6 separate regions of the Homo sapiens genome follow, and regions 2, 3, 4, 5 and 6 are each linked to region 1. Evidence: promoter capture Hi-C in 16 types of primary human blood cells and fetal thymus (Javierre and others, 2016). All regions are on one chromosome and are shown on one strand. Each heading gives the region's core, a stretch centred on a gene start or on the middle of the fragment in contact. The rest is flanking DNA. Distances are from core to core; before and after follow the strand shown.

The links. Contacts are between HindIII fragments. The CHiCAGO score rates a contact against its expected background, and 5 or more counts as called.
Region 2: a fragment that was not itself captured here is called in contact with the fragment with the promoter of PPP1R3C in region 1 in 2 of 17 cell types (non-activated CD4 T cells and naive CD4 T cells); the score reaches 5.4 in non-activated CD4 T cells.
Region 3: a contact is called between a fragment that was not itself captured here and the fragment with the promoter of PPP1R3C in region 1, in 15 of 17 cell types (total CD8 T cells, naive CD8 T cells, megakaryocytes and 12 more). The highest score is 29.9, in total CD8 T cells.
Region 4: a fragment that was not itself captured here is called in contact with the fragment with the promoter of PPP1R3C in region 1 in 2 of 17 cell types (endothelial precursors and naive CD8 T cells); the score reaches 6.5 in endothelial precursors.
Region 5: a contact is called between a fragment that was not itself captured here and the fragment with the promoter of PPP1R3C in region 1, in 1 of 17 cell types (endothelial precursors). The highest score is 6.3, in endothelial precursors.
Region 6: a contact is called between a fragment that was not itself captured here and the fragment with the promoter of PPP1R3C in region 1, in 2 of 17 cell types (endothelial precursors and megakaryocytes). The highest score is 6.3, in endothelial precursors.

What each region holds. Positions count from the first base shown.
Region 1 is chr10:91,631,580-91,634,572 of GRCh38, forward strand. PPP1R3C (protein phosphatase 1 regulatory subunit 3C) reads right to left here and starts at 1,492. Exons shown (of 2, transcript NM_005398.7): 1 at 1,377-1,492. The coding sequence starts at 1,390. RefSeq lists enhancers at 1,123-1,624, 1,625-2,124 and a silencer at 1,459-1,598. The HindIII fragment of the contact is 3,050 bases long and covers 466-2,993 here.
Region 2 is chr10:91,276,826-91,279,818 of GRCh38, forward strand. PCGF5 (polycomb group ring finger 5) reads left to right here. Exons shown (of 10, transcript NM_032373.5): 10 at 1,444-2,993. The coding sequence ends at 1,491. Among named protein-coding and RNA genes, the nearest start is that of PCGF5, 58 kb to the left of the region's middle. The HindIII fragment of the contact is 946 bases long and covers 1,048-1,993 here.
Region 3 is chr10:91,297,938-91,300,930 of GRCh38, forward strand. No RefSeq gene overlaps it. Among named protein-coding and RNA genes, the nearest start is that of PCGF5, 79 kb to the left of the region's middle. The HindIII fragment of the contact is 3,876 bases long and covers 1-2,993 here.
Region 4 is chr10:91,339,332-91,342,324 of GRCh38, forward strand. All of the region lies in intron 4 of HECTD2-AS1 (HECTD2 antisense RNA 1), which reads right to left. Among named protein-coding and RNA genes, the nearest start is that of HECTD2, 70 kb to the right of the region's middle. The HindIII fragment of the contact is 1,978 bases long and covers 463-2,440 here.
Region 5 is chr10:91,914,983-91,917,975 of GRCh38, forward strand. No RefSeq gene overlaps it. Among named protein-coding and RNA genes, the nearest start is that of FGFBP3, 7.0 kb to the left of the region's middle. The HindIII fragment of the contact is 1,904 bases long and covers 539-2,442 here.
Region 6 is chr10:91,359,512-91,362,504 of GRCh38, forward strand. All of the region lies in intron 3 of HECTD2-AS1 (HECTD2 antisense RNA 1), which reads right to left. Among named protein-coding and RNA genes, the nearest start is that of HECTD2, 49 kb to the right of the region's middle. The HindIII fragment of the contact is 744 bases long and covers 1,051-1,794 here.

The DNA.
Region 1 (2,993 bases), core at 242-2,741:
AGTCAAAGAATCATCTTTGCACTTTGATTATCATGCTCTTATTTTTCACAAATAACCACTGAAATACAAGCCAACAATTCATATGCACTTAAAAACTATATAATTGATAATTCACCTAAAGAGATGCCCATGACAAGTCCACATTTAAGTGGAAAAACTGATTACCTGAAAGTTGGAGTGTTTTAAAATATACATTTTATATATACAAACTTATAAATATTGAAAAACTCTATAGGAAATACACCTTTCCTAATAATTTAATAATTATTATTTCTGGGTGATAGGATTATAGATTATCTATTTTCGTTTTTGTTCTTTTTTGGCATTTTCTAATAGACATTTATAAGTAGAAAGACAATAAAACCATTTAAAGTTTTAAACATGACTATGCTCAGCAATATTAAACCAAGAAGCATCTATAAAGAAGACTTTTCTCTGACCTTTAGCCCTCATCATATATTTCCAAGCTTATGGTATTAAGATTTTTTTCCCTATCTTAGCCTTACAAGTAAGAGGTGTGTGTATACTGTACACGACATTTCTCAGTCTGGCTTTAGTAACTCTCCTCACAGCAGCTCTAAACATGTATGCAAGTGGTCATTATCACAAAAGTGTGTAATAACACTCGCAGAATTTACTGTGTTAGCTCTGGGGTTTTTCTGGGAGATCTGCAAACTTAGAACAAACAAATGAAAGCTAAAGCTATATTTGTGGGTCTAATAATAGTTAATAGGCAGGATTTTTAGAGAAGTCTTCTGCTAAGCTATGTCTGGAGAAGCTATTTAAAGTAGTTTTATGGGAGGTTTTTTTTGGTTTTTTTGTTTTTTTTTTTTTACTTTTTGCATTTATAGAAAGACAGTTTTAGTTTGGGTGATTTCCTTGGAACTTTAAGTCCTGGACAAGAGTTAAAAGTAATCGTTTGCTCAAACTCTTGAGATTTTGCTATGGCAAACTGTGATAAGAAGGACGAATGAATGCAAACGTCGTCCTGTAATTTTTTTCCTCCAAGCTAAACCACCTAACCAGCAATGTCAGAGTGCTGTTCTCACCACTTCAGCTGCCCGAGTCTTTGGGACATTTGTGCAGGACCAAAAGAACAGCCGCATCCATGAGAAAATCCTAACTCAAGCTGATTCACGTTAAGATAATTTCTGCTTTAAGATGCTGATTACTAAAATAGGCTCTGCTTAAGAAATAGAGCCAAATTTCTACACCTCCAAGGCCTCTCGGTTGCCAGATTCAACTACGCAGTCAGTCCACTTGTCCTCCCCCTGGGGTGTCCATTTCCAGAGATGATAGAACTGAAACGCCCCCCAACTTCCCCACAGCTGCGCGTTCCCCTGTGTTCCTAGCGCGCAGAGTTGCAGCGAACCTACCTGGTGCAGCTCATTAGGCAGAGAGGCGGCGGACCCTAAAAGCCAGCACCCGCTGCCTGCACAAATTCGAACCACAGCTCCAGGCCTTGCCCCCGCGGCGGTCGCTGGGAGAGACTGAGGGCCCGGCGCCTAGAGGCCGCTTATCTGCTCCCAAGCACGTGACCCGATCCCTGGGACCAATCGCCGGGCCTCGAGCCCCAGGGCGCGACCAACCAGCGCCCAGCTGGGGCGCCAGCCCTCGCCCCGGCAACGTGATCGCCCCGGGGCGAGACGTGCAGAGAGCTATCTGGGCATCGCGGGGAGGTTCTGGGACTCCGCGGCCAGCTGGAACCAGCCGCGTAACGGGAACCCTGGGCTAGGGGCCGGGCAGGCACGTACCGCATGCAGCGGGCGCCGGCCAAGAGAGAGCGCAGCCAGCCTCGCCCAGGCGGGGCGCCAGTGCCTCAGGCTTGGGGCGGCTGTTACTTGGGAATAGCTTTGTGGGTCACTGCGGGTGAATCTGCACACAGAAGATGTGGCTCAAACCGAATGTGTATCGCATTTGAAATGTTTATATCGTTCATTACCCGGTGTATCCGCATTTCTCCCTCACCTTAGCCTGCGCGATCCCAAACTGGCTGCATGCTTTTCGATTAGTATGAGTTCACAGATGCACCACACAGTAGACAGCTGCCGGGAATTACCAACTTATCTAACAAATGTTGTTAGGAAAGCATACGAGCCCCATAAAACACCAAGGTGGCATTTAATTAAAAGACACTTCGTATTTCTGTCTATTCTTCAATTTTCTCCCCTGCGGGGAACACTAAAGCCGGAAGTGAAATGACCCTTTTCACACATACAGCCGGTCAAGAGGCAGCAGTCAACCCAAACCCCTTACTCAATTCTGACGTCCTTTGGCAGTGGTGTGGAAATCAAAATGTTAAAATAAAATTTAAAAAATCACGCCGTATGTTTCATGGGCCTTCTGAGCCACTCACTTTCGCTGAAGTTTCATTATTTTGATTAGTTTGAAGAATTTTTAGACCATCATTTACAACTGTAAAATTAAATGTCTAAGTCAAGTCTAAATTATTTTTATAAAACCCACATCCTAGTTTTGCTCCCCTAATTGAGCTATCCATTAGTCAATTAAAATATACAAAAATTCCTATGTCTTTTAAACAACTGTCAAACAGTGGAATTGTTAAAATTATTAGAGTGAAGAAAAAAATCACACTGAATATCACTGGGAAAGGGACTTCATGCCTGGGTTTTATTTTTGAAATGAAATATCTAACTAATGGCAGGTCTTCTAGCCCCTTTAGCTCAACCAAAACTAGCTGGAAGGTCTTTGGATTGACACTTACTAGCTACACGAATCTAGGCAAGTTCTAACCTCAGTTTCCTCATGTGTAAAACAGAGATAGTAACGTTCTGAAGATGAAGTAAGATGGTGCCAATGAACAGACTCAGCACGATGCCCAGTGCCTGTGTTCCACCCGGGCTAGTTCCCAAGTTTCTACTTGATCTCTCAGCTAGAGTTTTTACTCTATCACCTCAAGGCGCCTGGTGCCTGAGCTAAAATATTGAGAATAGCTGCTGCTTGTTGAGCCTTTACTCTGTGCCAAACACTAT
Region 2 (2,993 bases), core at 271-2,770, 350 kb before region 1:
GTGAAGGGCAAGCTGTGGGTTGGGTGAGGTAGAATGGAAAGGATATTGGTCGTCTCAGAATCTCACTGGGCTTCAGAAACATCCAGAGTTTAGTAAAATGGAGATAATCTGTGTCTTGCTCCCTCCCAGGTAATCTGATTCAGGGGGAACTAAATAAAGTTTAAAATAAAAACAAGTAAAACCAGAACAGTTTTAGAAGTTTTAAACCTTGGAAACCCTGAGAGACTGTCTTGAGACTTTTACTCCAGCCCTTAGACAGCTGTAGTAGCATCTGCTGTACTTCACCTGGGAGAGCAAGACCTAGGGCATTTGTATTCCTGCCCTCTAGTTCCATCCTGAGCTGAATGGTTACAGATTCCAACATTGAGTCTTCCCAGTGTGTAGCATAGCTATAGTAAGCACTGAAATGGTCATTTTCAGGATTGTTAAATCTCAGTCTAGCCCTTTTATCTATATGAAAGAATACAAAGTTCTCTATACCGTATTTTTATATTCATGTATACCAAGATGGAGAAACATTAGTCAGTGACCATCTCAGCCCCTTCTTGATTCCATAAAAGTAGCTCCTCAAATTTCATTTTAAGAGAGAGTATCTACAGCTTTAAGAAAAGGAAAACCACTGATGTTTTGGTTCTATAAGATATGGTACAGGGTAAAAACAAACACAGAGGTAGCGTGGCATATGCCATATGCCTTTATCCCAAAGAAGCTGTTTCCTCTCTAGTTCTGTATGATAGCCAGATATATGATACCTTTTCTACATAGTGACATGAAAAACAATATGAACCATTCAGTTATTTTATGTAATAGTCAAATCCAAATGTTTATTAGTATCAACTGTTGAAAGGAGGTAGTGACCTAAATGTTTCATGTAACAATCAGCTACTTTTTCAATATTTTTAAAGGATCATTAAAATAAATTTTAAATTTAAAAAATGTTTCAAACTTGTAAGAAATATGATTTGTGAACACTACTCCAGTTTTACAGGTTCCTAGCAGAGGGGGTCTCTTTGTTGATTTGTGATCTAGTGGGCTCTCACCAGCCTAAGCTTTAGTGGAATCCAGGCTGCTGATCTGTCTTGTTCGCCTCCTAGGGTTACTAACTGAATGCCTATAAGCAGGGTGTGTGACTTTCAGTCCTTCCCAGTTCTTGCCTCTCCTAAGTGTTGTGCTAGCACTAGTCATATATACAACCTGTATGATGTCTGTAGGCCTTTGAACTTGACCTCTGCTGCATATTACTGAAAACTTGACTGATTCTAGAAAAATAATGGCAATCAAAAGAAATAGAGTTTTAATGGTAACTCAAATTTTAACTGTTGTAATCACTAGTACCAGGAAATACTGTAAATTATAACTCCGAATTCTTAAAATCTTTCATATATAAACTGTATTGTTTTTATCCAAATACAGTCTTATTTATTATCTGTCTTTATTTTGTAGTCATACCCTATGGTACTGCAGTATCGACCAAGAATTGATTTCGGTTAGACCAAGGGGCCCAGACCTCACTGAGATGAATCCTGCACTATTTGTTTACTCGTCAACAGATTGCACAGTTAACGGTGTGTGGACTAGAGGAACACAACCAGATTTTCAGCATGCAAATAAGGCCATTGTCTATCTCTAAATTGTCAGTTGCATTCATGTTGTTTCTATTAGGAGCAAACCAAGTGCCATTCTGCTACTGAACCATCTGCATAAGGTATTTGTGTTGTCTCAAAGTGTGCAAGTCATGGTAAAAATCAGTTAGCTGTGCCGCCATGATTCACCCTTCTGAATATTTTGCTTGCCTGTTCCAAGATTGTTCTAATGTTTAATTACACTAGTAAAATGGCTCAATTTTTGTGGTGTTGCAGTTTTCACATACTTACTCTTTTATTCTTGTTTAAATAGCGTACTCTACAAGAAACTAATAATTATATCTTGAAATTATTTTGTATGGAAGTATATTTAGAAAAGTGGTTTTTGAGCCACTGTCTTGTTCTTGATAAGCTTTTTGTGTGAAAAAAAGTTCATTCTTGAGTGTGCAAGTCCTTTTGCCAAGAATTCCAATTATTCTGTAACATTAGAGCACAATATAATTGTAGACATTCTAAGCATCTGTCCGTGTAGTCTACCAATTGCACAAGGAAGGCATGTTAGCCCTCCAGATTGAAAATGTATGTGACCTCTTGAACTGAAGTTAGATTCCCAACCATTCAAAATGTTGGCAGCTGATCACATTTACTTCTGATAAAAGTAATGTGTAAGTAAGGTTAATCTTCTTTCATAATGCCTTATGACAAGCAGGTGCTGCTTCATGAAACGTCATTGTATAGCCCATTTCATGTATCATTACATTGTTGCTGTTATTTAATGAGTGCATTATTTCTCTTTTTAAGTTGGCCTTAGGTATATGTCATTGTGGCATGCAGAGGGTTATGACGATTTTAAATATTAGGATTTTTAGAGCACATAACATTAGCTATTTTATGGATTTCAAAAGTCTCAAAACAGTTGTAGATTAAAACTGTTAGTTACCTTTCACATTTCCAAACTATGTGCATAAAATAGAATAAATGCAGTATAGAACTATGCTAACCAAAATTAATAGGTTAAGGGTATTTTATTTTAAATCCTGTAGTAATTGGGGAAATGAGAAGATTATTATTTTATACATGAGTTCATTAAGATCAGAAATACAAAATGTCCTGTATTTTGCAGTTTTGTTAAGTCTTCCATTCGTTTTAGGATTAGTCTGCAAGTCAAAGAAAGTCTTGTTACCTTAAATTATATGAAAACTGTCATTTTAAATCTTTTAATATTTACAGTTTTCAAAAACCTTACTTGGAAATTGCTTTGAAACAAACAAGCTAACCTTTGAAACTTAGGAAAAAATCTTGAAAGTTAGGAAAAATATTTGAGAAATATGACGAGCACAATCTGTGTGTTACACACATTTAGTTTTTATACTGCATATGTGGTAAATGTGTCACATTTTCCAGTAAAAT
Region 3 (2,993 bases), core at 277-2,776, 330 kb before region 1:
TGACCCGGGAGCTCCACTAGTCTTCTGCAAACTGCGATGGTGGTTTCCTCTACCTGGGAGCCTGGCAGCCCCACCAGGCCCTACAGGATTACATCTGTTGACTGCACTCAGTTTTACTTCATTGCAGGTGGTGTTTCTTTCCCTTGGTAGAGTTCTTTCACTAACACCCCTGTGAGTCTTGTCAGATGTGATTAAACTCTGGGCAACACAAATGGAATGAAAAGAGGGAGGTGGAATTGTTTTTTTTTTTTTTTTTTAACGTGAGATAACTGACAGGTAAGACTTGAGATGAACCGGGGGGTTAAAGAAGGGTATGCGTGCCTCTGGGTGCTTTGCTATCTATGTGCTCACACATAAGAAGGAGTATGTGTAATGTACTGAGGAAGAGACCTTGGGAAGCCCGACCTGGGCAGGAGCCCCTGGAAAGTGGGGGAGGGGAAGGCAGCCGTGGCTGCAAAATTGAGGCACACAGTTTCCCATCACGGCCTCCAGAGGGCGCCATCAGCCCGCAGTGGTTCTTTGCCTTTTGAGGGCGGGCAGAAGGAAGAGGATCCACCTGGAGGATGGGTAACGAGAGCTGCAACCCACTTCCTTCAGGGCTGGGGCATGCAAGAACGAGGAGTGGACCGCTCGCAGTGCTTGAATGTCCTCCTTGTTAACCCCAGCTGGGATAAGCACCTCCGCCTCATAAGATCAAAGCTCTTTCATTCCTGCTTTAACTTTGCCAGTTCCCTTTACTTCGGAAAGAATGAGAAACCTCATCCTAGCAATCCCAGGGATCTGTGCCCTCCAGAGGAAGATCTCTGCAAAGCTGTTTACAGCGGGTTGTTTGGAGGCCAGCTTCTCTGGCACGGCGCGGTGTCCCCGTGGAGCGTTTCCAGGGCGCGGAGGCCCTGGGTCACCAACTCGAATGAATAGTGAGTGAGCTGATTGCCGCTCCACGCTGATGGATGTATATTTGTTACATTTGAAGTGTTCTGAGAAAAGAACTGCTTCTGAAAAGAAGAGCTTTGTGTGAGCACAGTGAACATGAAGGGCGAGATTCCAAAACCTTTAGGAGGGTTTTCTTTCTATGCAAGAATGAGCCACAGAAAGCTGTTCCCAGCATCCTCTGCTAATCTAGGAACACCTATGGAAAAGCGTTGTCCCGGTCTCAATCCCAGGGATGGGAATCAGGAAGCACAGAAGCTGCCATCAGAGCCCAGGGCTGGCTCTGTCATTGCCCCTTGGGTGACCTGCCGGCAAACCGCTAGAGAGCCGAGCCTCAGTTTTCTCATCTGTAAAATGAGAGCCCGGTTGTAGGGTACCCAAGTTCCCTCCCAGGTCTGGCACTTCCTGAGGGTCCTATTGTTCACCATAGAGCTAATAATGCTAGTTCTCAATTGTTTTGTTCTTGGGACCCCTTCACAAATCTTAAAAGTACTGAGCCTCCCCCCACCCCATGGATCTGTGGGGGCTTCTTTTGCTATTTGGCAGTCAGTACTAATCAAACTAACTGACATAGAAGAATTTTAGCTTATACTTCATGTGTCTAAGGCTCTCTCCAAGGGCCTTCTCTCTGCCCTATCATGTTTACATTTGTCTTGGTTGATGTAAGGCACTGATTATGGCCTCTGGATGCACATTGGAATCACCTGTAGAGCTGAGACATAACCTCAGACCAATTCCCAGAGATTCTCATCTAGTTGGTCTCTGCTAGGGTAGTGGGGAGGGGGCTACCAGGTGATTTTTAATGTGTAGCCAGGCTTGAGAAGGGCCACTCTGATAGCTCTGTGGTTCTCAAAGTCAGCCGGCAGCATCAGTATTACCTGGGAACTTGTTAGAAATGCAAATTCTCAGGCCTGCCAAGGACCTACTAGGGCAGAGCCCAGGAATCTGTTTTAACAAGCCTTCCAGGTGATTTGAATACATGCTACAGTTTGAGACCCAGTGTTCTCAATTGCCACACCTCCACAGCTTCCACTCCCACCTTCACCATCACCTCCATCAACTAAGTAAGCCCATGAAAATGTTTCAGGTTCCCATCTTCCAAGGTGCAGCTGTCTGTGTTTGCAGTGGTGACAGGGGCTTGGGTGACTGTGGCATCATTTGCATGTGAGAAGCTGCTGGGCTCTTCAGCAAGAATGAACCAAAGGTCACTAAATGCCACACACATATTCCATTCAGCAAATATTTATTGCATAAATATTTATTGAGGTACCAGCCTACTGCTGAGGGCATCACCTTACAGAATGCTTGCTGCATAGGAGATGCTTCAGAAATGCTGGCTGATGAAACCTCAAGGCCTTTTTGCAGCCATTCATGCTGCCTAAGAATTATGCATCCTGTTTACTCTGTCCTTACCTTCGACACATGGAAGCTCTAATCCTTGGGAATCCTGAAAAGCAAGGGTCCCTCTGGCACAGCAACCAAAAAGAAAATCACAACCACACCTAGCCTGTGCTAGCCTTGCCAATGATATTGCTTTTGCAAAGAATGGAAAATATTTGCAAATGGTTGAATGTTGAATCATGGGTTCTATGACATTAATGTTTATAAAATTCCATTTTACTATGGAAACAATAGGCTAATTGTTAGAGTGGATGGAGATCTATAGGATTGTCTCCTCCACACTCACATACTTGTTTTTCTAGAAACTGCCACCTTTCCCATCCGTATTTCTCACAGGAGCTCTCTCTCTCTTTCTCTCTCTCTCTCTGTATATAGTACATGACCCATCAACCTAACTGGCACTCAATCCAAAGTGGGCTACTGACTCTTGACTCCTTTGGTTAGAATTTTTTGGACTTGACACTGAGCAATCTCCCTATGGTGACTGAAGCTGGAAGGTTCAGTATTAGGGTTCTCCATAGATATGGGACCAATAGTGTGTGTGTGTGTGTGTGTGTGTGTGTGTGTGTGTGTGTCTACAGAGAGAGAGAGAGGGAAGATAGAAGATAGATAGATAGATAGATAGATAGATAGATAGATAGATAGATAAAAAGGAATTTATT
Region 4 (2,993 bases), core at 202-2,701, 290 kb before region 1:
AAAAACTACAAATATAAAGAAATATTAAAATGTCATTAATTAGGAATATTTTTCTTGCTCTTTTTAAAAAATCTTCCCGCAATTTGATTACTGGTTTTATACAGTTAAGGTTATACTTTTTATTGAAATTAAGAACTTAAGCAAAATCAGAATCAGTTATTAAAATAAGCCTTGGAACTCACATCGCTGGTAAGTGGTTGAGTTGGGCCTTTAAGCCACATCTTCTGATTCAAAATACTATTTATACCATTTTATTCTAGGGATACCATGAAGCCTATAGCACCTCCTTCTCAATTTAGTATGTTCCATTTAGCCTAGAGAAAAGACTGAAGGTTGTTGCAACTACATATACTTTATATTTCTTTCTAAGTGTCACAATTGAGTACAATTAGAGTTCAATTTCTCTTTATAATGGATGTTCCCAGAGGGTAAACAGAAAGAATGTATGCATTCTTTAAGCAAAGCTTTATTTTTCTCTATGAATCAGCATGCAAAATCCCCTAGCAACATTTGACTTTAATACTTATGGAAATCAGATTGGTCTCCCTTGTTAGAGTGGGCATCTTGATGGCCCGTGTTATTTCCTCTATGTGGGGTTCCAGCTGTGTTGTCAGCCAGCAGTACCACTTCCTGAGGGCTGAAGAACATCTTTCTGAAAGCATTGCCCTAAAGCTGCTGCTGCCACTCCTACCATGCTCCAAATCATCAGCTTTCTAATGTGCCCTGTGAACCCTAGGCAAAGGGACAAAAAACATTATTTTAGACTTCAGTTCAGTTGGGAATCAGAAGTTGTATGGAGCCATTAAGTGGAGGCATTCAACGTATTCACACAATAACTGTTTGAACACCTATTATGTGCTCACATTGTGCTAGGCACTGGGGATCTGCTAACAAGAGACACAATCCCTATCCTCATTGTAGCTCACAGATTAGGCTGGCAAATTGACATTTAAAAAATACTGTAACTACACAAGTAACTCAGCCTCTCTTTTCATCTCTTGCTAACCTTGATGCAGGACACAGCATCTCTCTCCTTTCCAGTAAATAAATAGACAATCTGTTCTGCACCAAAAGTATTAATGAACTGCATAGATGTTGACCAAGATTTTGTGTAGGAGTTTCCTACACAAAATCTTATAAAATCTCCCATACAAATCCTATGGGAAACTCCCACACAAAATCTTACAAAATCTCCTATACAAATTCTATGGAAAACTCCTACACAAAATCTTACAAAATCTCCCATACAAATCCTATAGGAAGCTCCTACACAAAATCTCCTATACAAATCCTATAGGAAACTCCCATGCAAAATCTCAGCCTGACATCCTCAGTTCTCTTTGGAAGTATCTGGTCTCCAAGCTGGATTCTTCTTTGCCCTGGACCTGTTTCCTGACCTTGTGGTCTTGTGTCTCCCTATTCTGTTTTTACCCCCTGGAAATTTTGTTTTCCTGTAGCGCCACCCTGTTCCGTTCCTGGTGAGCAGTTCATCTCTGCCTGGGAGTTCACCTCCAGCCTTGCACACTTCAGGGGCCCTCCAGCAGCTGGAACCCACCTCCTCATTAGATGGTGTGTGTGTTTTGGGGGTGCGGAGTATAAATAACATGGAAATCAGGTTGTGCTGCACTTAAATAGGGAGTAATTATAATTGTGTTTATTTGATAGAGGGAGGCACAGGTGCCAGGAGACTGAGTAAGAAGTGAGCCTGTGAGACAGCTGCTTGCCAGCCGCATCAGGCCCTGGCCCCTGAGTCAGCCTGTGTCTAATTAGGAGCAGGCTGCAATCGCCATCTGAATAATTCTCTGGGATTGAGTTTCTTCCTGAATGACTCGATTCACACTGGATGAGAAACTGTCTCTCTCCACTAGGAAGTGGAATAAAACAACTGACTCACATTTCACGCTTCCGTTTTTGCCAAGTGGAGATGATAATTTCTCAGTTACTCAGATGTGGGCTAGAGCTGAATCTGCTTTTTATAACTGACTGACTTAGCAAGGAAGTGAAAATCCAGGTACTGAGATGGAGCAGGGACCCCTTTTAGGGGTCTCTGGGTCCCCAAGCATGGAAATAAAGGAAAATCTTGAGCTCCTTCAAGGGAAATTCCAGATGCCTAGCTAGCCCTGAAAGTGAATAAGCAGCTTGATAAACAAGAAGGTAATGGTAGCCTGAAACAATAGCCAAGGAACTGAGAGTCCCGAGATGTTTGGTTCCCTATAGAAACTAAAGATAACATCTTAACATATGTACCCGAGTTATTTTTCAGAAACCTGGACCTCCAACAAATGGATACACTGGCACATAGACCTCAGATAATGTAGAACTGAGGACTGAATTCTGATAACCATTCTTTGTTCTAAATTTCTTCCTGAGTGTCCTGGAGGAAGTCACACCCATGAGCCAGAGCTAACATTCTTTCTGCTGACCTTAAATTTTTAAACAAAGCTTCTCTTCCTTAACCAATTGTAAAAGAGAAAATCTTTGAACCTGCCTATGACCTGTAAGCTCCTGCTTCAAGATCCCCCACCCTTTCAGGCCAAAACCCATGTGTAGCCTCCATGTATTGATTTATGATCTTGCCTGTAACTTCTGCTTTCCTGAAATTTACCCCTGCTTTTAAAAACCCTTACTTGCAAGCCATTGGGAAGTCAGGACATAAGCATTAGCTGCCAATTCTCCTTTCTTGGTGCCCTGCAAATAAATACCTTCCTTTCTTGCCACTTCAAACCTCAGTGTGGATGTCTGGCCTTACTGTGCCAGGCCAGTGGACCCCACTTTGGTTCTATAACAGTATCACAAAGCCAAGGGAGCCATAATGAGTCAAGTTCTGGGTCCTAGACTCCACATCAAGTCTTGGAGTGGGATTATTCCTCAACCAGGTGGTCTGGTCTCACTCTAGACAAGGCCTATGGAGGTCCTGTGGATTCAGAAGACCCCTCCTACCAAGGCCCACCCTCCCTGGATGTCTCCTGGAAGAGGTAAAAATTCTAGGTATC
Region 5 (2,993 bases), core at 241-2,740, 280 kb after region 1:
TTTGTAGGGATTGTGTTGAATCTGCATACTGCTTTGGGTAGTATGGATATTTTAACAATATTAATGTTTCTAATACATGAGCATGGGGTAGCTTTCCATTTATTTGTGTCTTCTTCAATTTCTTTCATGAATGTTTTACAGTTTTCAGTGTAATTTTTACACCTCAGTCAGTTAAATTTATTCATAAGTATTTGATTTTATTTTACTTTTTCATCCTATCATAAATGGGATTGTTTTCTTGCATTCTTTTTCTGTTAGGTCATTATGTGTATAAAAATGCTACTGATTTTGGTATGTTCATTTTGTATCCTGAAACTCAATTCATTTAGTGGTTCTAATAGGTTTTTGTGAAATCTTTAAAGTTTTTAAAAATAAGATAATGTCATCTGTAATAGAGATAATTTTACTTCTTTTATAATTTGGACGCTTCTTATTTTTCTTGTCTGATTGCTCTTGGTAGTACTTCTAGTACCGTGTTACATAGAAGTGGTGAGACTGGGCATCCTTGCCTTTGTCTTTTACTACATCTTAGGGGAAAAGCTTTCAGTATTTCCCCATTGATTATATGAGGAACTAATATTATATGTTAGCTGTGGGTTTTTCATAAATGGCTTTTAATATGTTGAGGACCTTTCCTTCTATACCTAAATTATTGTGAGTTTTTATCAAGAAAAAATGTTGGACTTTATTGAATGCTTTTCCCAAATCAATTGAGATGATCATGTGGTTTTTAATCTTTCATTCTGTTAAATCTATCACATCGATTGATATGCATATGTTACACTTATCCTAGCCAGACTTGCATGGCTAGGATAATTCTCATTTGGTCATGATGTATGATCTTTTTTATGTATTGTTAAATTCAGCTTGCTAATATCATATTGAGAATTTTTGCATTAATATTCATCAGAGAGATTGTCCTATAGTTTTCTTTTCTTGTGATATCTTTCACTTAGGTATCAAAGTGAAGATGGCCTCATAAAGTTTATTTGGAAATACTCCCTCTAGCTTTATTTTTTGGAAGAGTTGTATTAAGAAGCATTGGTATTAATTCTTCTTTGAAAGTTTGGTAGAATTCAGTGTGAAGCCATCTGGTCCTGGGCTTGGCTTTTCTTTGTTGGGCAGTTTTTTGTTTTTTTGTTGGTTTTTTGTTTTTTTGTTTTTTTTTTTTTGAGACAGAGTTTCGCTGTTGTTGCTCAGGCTGGAGTGCAATGGCGCAATCTCGGCTCACTGCAACCTCCGCCTCCCAGGTTCAAGCGATTCTCCTGCCTCAGCCTCCCGAGTAGCTGGGATTACAGGCATGCGCCACCACCCCGGCTAATTTTGTATTTTTAGTAGAGATGGGGTTTCTCCATGTTGATCAGACTGGTCTTGAAGTCCCGACCTCAGGTAATCCACCCGCCTTGGCTTCCCAAAGTGCTGGAATTACAGGCATGAGCAACCGTGCCCGGCGTTTCTTGGTTTTTTTCAGATGGAGTCTTGCTCTGTCGTCCAGGCCGTAGTGCACTGGCTCACTGCATTGGCTCATTTGGCTCACTGCAAACTCCGCTTCCCAGGTTCAAGCAATTCTTGTGCCTCAGCCTCCTAAGTAGCTGGAATTACAGGCACCCACCACCAGGCCCAGCTAATTTTTGTATTTTTAGTAGAGATGGGGTTTCATCATGTTGGCCAGGCTGGTCTCAAATTCCTCACCTCAGGTGATCTGCCCGCCTTGGCCTCCCAGAGTGTTGGGATTACAGGCATGAGCCACTGCTCCCAGTTTTTTATTACTACTTCAATCTCTTTATTTGTTATTAGTCGGCTCATGCCTTCTATTTCTTCCTGACTCAATCTTGGTAGGTTGTATTTTTCTAGGAATTTATCCATTTTTTCTAGGTTATCCAATTTATTGGCATATACTTGTTCATAATAGTCCCTTATAATCTTGTTTTTTATTTCTAAGACATCTGTTTTAATTTCTTCACTTTGATTTTTTGAGTCTTCTCTTTATCTCTTACATGATTTATCAATTTTATTTATTTGTTCAAAAAACCAACTCTTAGTTCTATTCTTTCTACGGTTTTTCTGTTCTCTATTTGTTTTATTTCGGTTCTGATTTTCATTGTTTCCTCCCTTCTGTTAATTTTGGGTTTAGTTTATGCTTCTTTTTCTAGTTCCTTGAGGCATAATGTTAAACTATATGGGATTTTCTTTTTTAATGCAGGCATTTGTTGTTATAAACTTCTCTCAGAACTGCTTTTGCTGCAGATGTGTTATGTTTCCATTGTTATTTGCCTCAAGATTTTTGTGAATTTACCTTTTGATTTCTTCTTTGATCCATCGATTGTTCAAGAGCATGTTGCTTAATTTCTACATACTTGTGAATTTTTAAAGATTCCTTCTGTTATTGATTTCTAGTTTAATACCTCTATGGTCTGAAAAAATACTAGATATGACCTTATAAGCTTGTTAAGACTAGTTTTGTGGCTTAACATATGCTCTATCCTGGAGAATGTTCCATGTACACTAGAGAAAAAATGTGTATTCTGCTGCTGTTGGGTGGAAAGTTCTCTGTATATCTGTTAGGTTCATTTGGCCAAAAGTGCAATTCAAGTCCAGTATTTCCTTATTAATTTTCTGTTCAGTTGCTCTATCAGTTGTTGAAAGTGGGATATCGAAGTCTCCTACTATTATTGTATTGCTGTCTGTTTCACCCTTTATGTTCATTAATATTTGTTTTATGTATTTAAGTATTCCAATGTTAGGTTCATATATATTTACGCTCATTGTGTCCTCTTGATGGATTGACCTGTTTATCATTAAATAATGAACATCTTTGTCTCTTGTGACAGGATTTGACTCAAAGTCTATTTTATCAGATGTAAGTATAGCAAGCTCTGCTTTTTTTTTTTTTTTTTTTTTTTTTTTTTGACACAGGGTCTCATTCCATTTTCCAGGCTGGAGTGCAGTGGCACAAACATTGCTTACCACAGCCTTGACCTCTTGGGCTCAAG
Region 6 (2,993 bases), core at 173-2,672, 270 kb before region 1:
AGATTCAGGAAAGTGTTCTCCTCACCCAAGACAGCCTGAAGTTGCAAAGGGTTTCACTCTTTTAGCCTAAGACTCTGTTTTGAATTGAAATGCAAATCTAGTCCTGTCATTGACAAGTTTGGGTGAATGAAATTATCCAATTATTTCCACTGGAAAGGTATATATGGTAGAGGTAGGGGGAGGTGAGAAGAAGTGCACCGGGCAAGGAAGGGAGGAGCAGGAAAAGGAAAAACTATTGCAAAGGGAGAAAGGAGTCTGGGAAGGGAAGCCAGGACCACTGATGGCAGATCTGTCAGCTCCTTGATTTCCCCAAGGGCTGGTCTTGTACTTGGCAACTAAACCATTGTCTTTCACTAAACAGAGCCTTAGTAGTAGCCTCTTGCTGCTCAGCCATGTAAATCAGAAATGGGAACTGGAGGTCAAGAGGGAGGCCAGTATGGGGGACAGTGGGATATGCTGCCAAGGTCTGTCTTGGAGAACGAAGGGCCAATTACCCCCCAGATATTGGGACTGCTACTGGCACTCCACCTTTAGCCCTTTGTGGGGATTGCCTCTGCTGAAGGAAATTACCTTACCAAGATCACATCTCCTTCACAAGGGGCCTCACATCTAATGACTGATTAACATGGTGAATAAAGTTTCTCCTGAGACACCTCTGTACTTTTACTCTGTCTCCATAACTCCCTGTATAGTTGGCTAAGTCATCTGTTGAGACTGCAATACAGATCACCTTCTCCCTTGGCCCAATCCTGCTTACTTTCCCTTCCTTCCATAGGCATTGACATCAAAAGGTCCTACAAAATCTCCTGAATGTCAATCTCAATCACAGGATCTGCTTCCTGGGAACCCTGAATTGCAATAACCAAACTGTGAATCTCCCATTTCCCAAAGGAACAAACTCCATCCTACACCATTAAATACACGAGAGGACTGGGATGTCTTGGGCTGCAGTACATGGCTGCCTACTGCACTGGGAGACTTGATTCGATGACAAAGTGAGTCTAAACAGGTCCAGAAAAGTCTTCCTTTTTCCCTGAGGGAGGTCCTGGAAGCTTAGCTTCTGAGATATTAGGAAATATGAAAAAAAATGACCCATGTCATTCAACAGGCATTCACTAAGTATGAATTCTTTATCAAGCACAAAATTATGTGCTGTCATCATTGTTGTCATTGTCATCATCATCGTCATCATTGTCATTGTTGTTACTAGTAGCATTTCAAGTGGTATCTGGTATTCCAGGAATTTGGAAACAAATCATTATCCGTATTTAATGTTTATCTAACAGATTCATAGACAAAAATAATATCTTTTTAGTGTTGAGATATCCAAATCAGAGTACAATTTTCAAACTGTCCAGATATTTCCCCATCTGCTGGATTTTTCCAATTGCCTTTCTTTGGACCTGCTCTAGTTCTATTGATTTTTCTTGTCATAATGATCATTTATGTTTCCTTTTTTCTAGATACAGATGAATCGGGGTTTTGAAACCAGGCAAGATCATATTCTTTTCAGTTTGCTTCCAGAGATCTTCCCAAAGATGACCAGCCAGCCTTCATTAGTAAATAGTAAAGCTATTTACTAGGTCAGGGTGACTTTAGGACTTCTGTGAGCATATCTGATAGTTTAACGTTCATGCTCATAATCAAAATTTGAATCATTATATTTCTTCACACTCCACTTCACATTCACCCTTGCTGACACTCTGCTGCTAATTTTCTTGTGAGGCTTGTGATTATCTTCACTGGTTGACATTTCATTCCCTCAAACAAGTTAATATCTCCTACAAACTTAGAAGCTTGACTACAGATATCCTTTCTCAGTGTGTTCCTGATCATAAGGAATAACTAGTCGTGCTCTAATCCCTCGAGATTCCATTATTTAGGACTCTATTAACTGCTCATATTCCTACCTTTTGTTTTTTGTCTTTAATTTATTTGATTTTTTTCCTTTGCAAAGTAATCCCACAATTTCCATGATGATGCATATTTGTAACTGATATAATGTGGTGGTAACATTTTGAATGTGTTTGCTCTTGCTTCTCTGGTTCTTTTAATTGTGACGTTAGGGTGTCAATTTTAGATCTTTCCTGCTTTCTCTTGTGGGCATTTAGTGCTATAAATTTCCCTCTACACACTGCTTTAAATGTGTTGCAGAGATTCTGGTATGTTGTGTCTTTGTTCTCATCGGTTTCAAAGAACATCTTTATTTCTGCCTTCATTTTGTTATTTACCCAGTAGTCATTCAGGAGCAGCTTGTTCAGTTTCTATGTAATTGAGCTGTTTTGAATGAGTTTCTTACTCCTGAGTTCTAGTTTGATTGTGCTGTGGTCTGAGAGACAGTTTGTTATAATTTCTGTTCTTTTACATTTGCTGAGGAGTGCTTTACTTCCAACTATGTGGTCAATTTTGGAATAAGTGTGATGTGGTGCTGAGAAGAATGTATATTCTGTTGATTTGGGGTGGAGAGTTCTGTAGATGTCTATTAGGTCTGCTTGGTGCAGAGCTGAGTTCAAGTCCTGGGTATCCTTGTTAACTTTCTGTCTCACTGATCTGTCTAATGTTGACAGTGGAGTGTTAAAGTCTCCCATTAATATTGTGTGGGAGTCTAAGTCTCTTCGTAGGTCTCTAAGGACTTGCTTTATGAATCTGGGTGCTCCTATATTGGGTGCATATATATTTAGGATAGTTAGCTCTTCTTGTTGAATTGATCCCTTTACCATTGTGTAATGGCCGCCTTTGTCTCTTTTGATCTTTGTTGGTTTAAAGTCTGTTTTATCAGAGACTAGGATTGTAACTCCTACCTTTTTTTCTTTTCCATTTGCTTGGTAGATCTTCCTCCATCCCTTTATTTTGAGCCTATGTGTGTCTCTGCACATGAGATGGGTCTCCTGAATACAGCACACCAATGGGTCTTGACTCTTTATCCAATTTGCCAGTCTGTGTCTTTTAATTGGGGCATTTAACCCATTTACATTTAAGGTAATATTGTTATG